2 separate regions of the Homo sapiens genome follow, and region 2 is linked to region 1. The links are contacts of gene promoters, found by promoter capture Hi-C in human tissues and cell types (Jung and others, 2019). All regions are on one chromosome and are shown on one strand. The core of a region is centred on a gene start or on the middle of the fragment in contact, and the rest is flanking DNA. Distances in the headings are between cores, read along the strand shown. Region 1 holds the start of HMGCR (3-hydroxy-3-methylglutaryl-CoA reductase). Region 2 overlaps ANKDD1B (ankyrin repeat and death domain containing 1B).

Region 1 (2,965 bases), core at 59-2,558:
TTATTAAAACTAAGGAGTGTTTAGTGTTTTCTTCGTAATGTGTTTCAAAATATGGGCTTTAAAAATTGAGTGAAATACAATTCCTGTCCTTAATAAATTTCCACATACGATAGTAAGACAAATAAAAAAATACTACGGAAATTTTATGGGTTTTCAAGGTCGGGAGTGATGATGTGTTTGAGGGAATTAGGAAAGGAGGTGGCATATGAAAAAGTCCTTAAGGGATATTTAGGATCTCAGCAGTTAAAATGGGTAGGCATATCCAAGGTAAACAAAGAGAACATAAGCAGGGAGGTAAAAAGGTACTGAGTGTGACTGAAGAAGGGCCAGTTACTCCTGGCTGAACTGTAAGGTTCGCACAGGAAAGTAGAGATACGTCAGAAATGTGTGGTGGGGCCATATTAGTGGTGACAGGTTCTTTCTTTAATCCAGTAGACAATGAGAAACGCTGATTTGGGTCTATGGCATAATAGGAAGTAGTATGCCACATACTGCATGTGGGAGTTCTGCAGGACAGATTGGGAAGTGCATGCGTGTAAGACTGGGAAGACCAGTTAGGAGAGGCTATTGCACTGTTTTAAGTAAGACATAATAAAGCCCTGCACCAGGCGGAGAGCAGAAGGAACGCACAGAAGACGCAGGAGAGGCACATTTCAGAGAGAATCCAGTATGCAATGGATGTCGCACACAAGAGAGAGAGACGCAGGTGACCGGAGCCATTTACACTAATGGGTAAATCTCGGGAAAGCGCTGGTTTCGGCTACCGGCCAGTTACAGGTTTGAGGTGCCCGTCGCCGCCACCTTCCCTTTTTTTATATTCCTCTTTTTCTCATGGCCGCCTCCGCTTCCCTCCATCTCTCCCGCGCTAGTAACTGAGCTTTCAGTCATCGACCTGACCCTGCGTTTTCCCTCACGCTCCGATTCTGCTTCCTATCACTGCCTCCTACTGTACTATCACAGCCAGGACGAGCACGGGTCAGGCACTGAGGCTGTGGGACACTCCACCCGCCTGGTCCCCTATCGCCTCCGCCTAGGCAGCTGCCATGCGTGCGCCCCCACAGCTCTAGGACCAATAGGCAGGCCCTAGTGCTGGGACTCGAACGGCTATTGGTTGGCCGAGCCGTGGTGAGAGATGGTGCGGTGCCTGTTCTTGGCCCTGCAGAGAGCTGTGGGCGGTTGTTAAGGCGACCGTTCGTGACGTAGCGCCGTCAGGCCGAGCAGCCCCCAGGCGATTGGCTAGACAATCGAACGATCCTCTCTTATTGGTCGAAGGCTCGTCCAGCTCCGAGCGTGCGTAAGGTGAGGGCTCCTTCCGCTCCGCGACTGCGTTAACTGGAGCCAGGCTGAGCGTCGGCGCCGGGGTTCGGTGGCCTCTAGTGAGATCTGGAGGTGAGGCGGGCGGTGACCGAGAAGAGGGGCAGGGGCGGCGGGGAGCGGGGCGGAGATGGGTGGGAGCGGGGTTTGGGCTGTGTTGGTGGCAATTCTGGAGCTTCCCTCGGCCCTGGGAAGTGGCTACCGGCAGCTCCTGCGGACCTGGAGGGGGCTGCGGTTGCGCTTTGTCGGTGTGGCAGCTCGGACCCGCGGGGACTGCAAGGAATGTCCTTGAGGCCCGGCAGGCCGAGCGGCGGCCGGCATCAGTGCCGGAGTAACCCGGGGTCCCGGGGTGGGCTTGAGAGGCGGGCGGCGGTCTGGCCTCTTCGTGACTGCGGTCATCATCGGTGGACCCGCGGGGCGTAGCTGCGTTCATCGTCCCTGTTCAGTCAGAGTAGGCAGTGCTGGCTGCACGGTCACGAAAATCGGGGCGGAAAGGGTGTCAGGCAGGGTGACCTCGGAGGCCCCTGGATTCGAGAAATGCTAGGGGTCTATGGGGCTGTCGGGCCGGCAGCTCGCAGGGCAGACGGGAGAAGCGCCTGCATCCCGGGATCCGGGCATTCACGCCCAGGAACTGCTGTTCGTTAGCACCTTTCTTTTAGGTGACGGGAAAGATCTCTGTAAATACTGCTGACTAACTTAGAACCATGAAAGAACCGTGGATTGGTGTAGATGTGTCTGGTTATTTACAGGAGAACGGCTTGAGAGGATGCGGAGCCCAACGTGGGGATTCGCACAATGACTCAAAAGATTCTTCTCCCTCTTTTTTTTTTTTTTTTTTTGGTAAGGGGTGTAGTCTCCTTGGTGCTGATATTCTTTTAGGAAAAATGTACCTTGGAGATACAAATATAGAACAGTTAATTTCTGCAGTAGGAGGAGGTCGATGTACTCCATTCTTAAGTAGTCGTTTGAAATATTTCAGGATTTGAGGATATTCCTTCTTAGACATGGTCCTGCAGAGTCGTAGGAAGCATTTGTTTCTGGGCTATACTAAATGTGCATGATTTCGGCGTCCCACAAGGTAGAGAATGTACTTTTTGTTTACTTATGAATTTATTTTCCTCTCCATGCAGTGAAAGGCATTTTGCAATTTAGAGATAATCTAGCAAAGACCTGGACAGTACTTTGGGGATAGGCTGGATTTTGCAGGCCTGCTTTGTTGTAGTGTTCTTCCAGAACTTATGATAAACTTGGTGGCCAAAACAAATGGGAATTAGTAACATGAAGGTTAAACAAAATTGCACATAGGTTACAGCATTAACATGAAAATTGTCGGGTATGTGGGATAACCATTTCAAGATAAGAGTGTGAGTATGCGTGCATGCACACACTCTTTGTATTCCTTTATGGTCTAGTTTCTAGACTATAGATAGCCACATTATGGAATTACATGGTCTACTTAGGTTGACCCATGTGAAATTGCCAGTATTTAAAATTCAACTAACCTACAAAAATAGCAGTTTCATATGATTCCATTTAACACTTATCTTTGTCAGAGAACTTTGGAGCTCTAGCTTCATAAGTGAATGAAGAGAATAGATATGACTTAAAAAACAACATGTAATAGAATGTGAGCTAATTGGGTATAGAATCC
Region 2 (3,062 bases), core at 334-2,833, 320 kb after region 1:
TCTGGTTACCATACTACCCCGCTTATATATATCCATTATTATAAATTATTTCTGTTCCTTCCAGAGTTTTTTATGCATATGCAAGCAAACATAAACACATTTTACTCTTATTCCCTTCCTCCTTCCTTTTTAGACACTGATGGCATACCTATAACTAGTATACTGTTCTGCATTTAGCTTTTTTAGCATTATTAAGTGGAGATATTACTACATGGAGAGTTTCTTCATTCTTTTTTTTTTTAGAGCTGCATAGTATAGCGTGGCACAGACATATCACAACTTGTTCAGCTAGTCCTCACTTGATTGACATTTAAGTTGTTCCTAAGGTTTTGCTCTTATAAACATAGCTGCAATGAATGACTTTACATATGTCTAAACTTGTTTTTTTAAATTAAAAAATTTGTGGTAAAATACACACACATAAACACTGTCTTAACCATTTTTATGTATATAGTTCAGTATGGTTAAGCATATTCACATTGTTATGCAATTGGTCTCCAAAACTTTCATCTTGCAAAAGTGAAACTTTACACTTATTCAATAACTTGCCATTTCTTCCTTCTCCCAGCCCCTGGGAACCACCATTCTACTTTCTGTTTCTATGAATTTGACCACTCTAAGTACCTCATATAAGTGGAATCACATAGTATTTGCCTTTTTGTGACTGGCTTAGTTCACTTAGCGTAACGTCTTCAAGGTTTATCTATGTTGTAGCATGTGTCAGAATTTCATTTCTTTTCAAAGCTAAATAACATTTCATTGTATGTCTATACCACATTTTGTTCATTCATTCATCCATCGATGGACATTTGGGTTGCGTCCACCTTTTGGCTATTGTGTAAACCTGTTTTTAAAGAAGGACAATTTTGTTTCTTTCAAGTGGTGCAGTAATGCAGGCTAAGCCTCCGGAGGGTTGTCAGAGAGCTGTGTTAGGTTCCAGCTTTACTGAATGTTATATAGGAGGTCCCTGGGTACAGTCCTGTCAGGTGCTCACGCAGGCCATATTACTTCAATCCTCACATTTCAGTGAGGTGGACAAAATCACTCCAGTTTTCAAGAGCAGATTGGAGAGATTCTGATGACATTGGGTCACACGCATAGTAAGAGGCAGAGCTGGCTTCAAATCCAAGTAGTGGCTGCTTTGTCATCTGGTGCTTTGCTACAACTGTCAGCAAAGATGACTGCTTCCGAAACTTGCAGTTTTCCCTTCCTTATTTTTACCCAACAGTTCAATAGCCAGCACTTCCCTAAGTCACAGTGCAAGCCTGAGTCCACCCTACTCTAGTTCAGAATCATCCATTTTACATGTGTAGGATCTAAAGTAGTTATATGTTATTTTACTTTTCTCTGTGTGTCAGTTTCTAAAATTAGGTTTTTTTGTTTTTTTTTTTCTGATCATAAAAAAAGTAACACAGACTGGCTGGGCGCGGTGGCTCACACCTGTAATCTCAGCACTTTGGGAGGCTGAGGCAGGCAGATCATGAGGTCAGGAGTTTGAGACCGGCCTGACCAACATGGTGAAACCCTGTCTCTACTAAAAATACACAAATCAGCCGGGCATGGTGATGCGCAACTGTAATCCCAGCTACAGCGGGGGCTGAGGCAGAAGAATCACTTGAAACCGGAAGGCGGAGGTTGCAGTGAGCCGAGACCGTGCCAGTGCACTCCAGTCTGGGTGAAAGAGCGAAACTCCGTCTGAAAAAAAAAAAAAAAAAAAAAAAAAAAAAGTAACACAGGCCCACTGTGGACGATTTAGAACACAGAAAAGCTTAAGGAGGAAAACACAACACAGAATGTTATCACTTGTGTGGAATTCCACCACTTTCACCAGTTGTGCCTGGTTAATTTGGTTTAACATTTAGCCTTAGTATTTTTTAATGCTGTTGTTTTGTATTTTATTCTACTTTTTCATGAATACTTAATACCCCCAAAGCCATTCTGTGGGTACGAAATCTATAGCATTGGGCAGGGATTTATGTTGGGGTCCCTGCTGCTTAGTGGACTAGATATTCCAGTAAATACAGTCAATGCTACCATTTGACTTTGTTTTCAAAACAAGAGCTCACAGTTTACTGGGCCTCATGATTTGACTTTCCCAGATTTCCCTTCTTCTCCTTTCTTTTCAAGGTCTGGCACATAGTTGGCACCCAATACATAGTTAATAAATGAATAAAAAATATCTTTTCTATTGGCTCCCACAATTTTTTTTTTTTTTTTTTTTTTTTTGCCAAAGAAAAGTGTTTCTAGGACCATGTTAGGGTCTGGTTAGGAAATAAGGAATCAAAGTTTGGTATAAATTTGACTTTCCCAGCAGCTTGTTCTCTGCTTGTCCTCTTGGCCTGAGGTGTCAAAAAGCTCTCAGAGAACCTTCTATCCACGCTACCTCCCAACCCCTAAGGGTAGAAGTGTTTGGATTTTCACTCCAGCATATATTCCTTAGGAAGATTTTCCTTTGAACTTGGAAACTCTGGCTCTCAGAATGCTGCCTTCTCAAAGCAGGCTAATTATAGTGATTCAAATGGCTCTGCAAGACAGAATGTAGACAGCATACAATTAGAGGCTTGCTAAATGCCTGCAAAATGCAGTTCTTCCTAATTTCATTACTGTCTCTTTTGATTACAGGCTGATTACTTTCAGCCCTAATTTTCCTGCTCCCCTGGGTCTTAGTGCCTAGACTAAGAACCAAATCATTTATATTGGTGGGAATCGCACTTGTTGCAAATATCTAACCATGTAAGATAATACTTGGGATATATTTCTGGATCCATAAGGGTTCCTAAGATTGGAACTCTTCTTCTTGGGTCATTTCTGACCATTAATTTTAATTGTTTTCTGAGCAAATTCTTCATGGGTCATTTGAAAAGCAAATGAGAACCACCATCCTTTGCTCAGGGAAAAATATTTAGATGTTGAAGTGGTGCACTCTATGAAATCCAGAGGATTCTGCTTGCAAAGCTCTATGCCCTGGCTTTGAGCTCTGTCCATCTTGAGAAAAGTGTACCTTTTTGTAATTCGTCTAAGTTACCATGTGGGCTCCAGGCAGTTCATTCCCAAAATTATGT

Evidence for each region. Contacts are between HindIII fragments. The study calls those that stand out against the background at their distance.
Region 2: a fragment that was not itself captured here is called in contact with the fragment with the promoter of HMGCR in region 1 in 1 of the 25 tissues and cell types used here (dorsolateral prefrontal cortex).

Annotation. Positions count from the first base shown.
Region 1 is chr5:75,335,912-75,338,876 of GRCh38, forward strand. It overlaps HMGCR (3-hydroxy-3-methylglutaryl-CoA reductase), which reads left to right and starts at 1,309. Exons shown (of 20, transcript NM_000859.3): 1 at 1,309-1,389. RefSeq lists enhancers at 1,220-1,780, 1,781-2,339 and a silencer at 1,421-1,540. The HindIII fragment of the contact is 13,606 bases long and covers 1-2,965 here.
Region 2 is chr5:75,659,699-75,662,760 of GRCh38, forward strand. All of the region lies in intron 10 of ANKDD1B (ankyrin repeat and death domain containing 1B), which reads left to right. Among named protein-coding and RNA genes, the nearest start is that of ANKDD1B, 50 kb to the left of the region's middle. The HindIII fragment of the contact is 4,599 bases long and covers 1-3,062 here.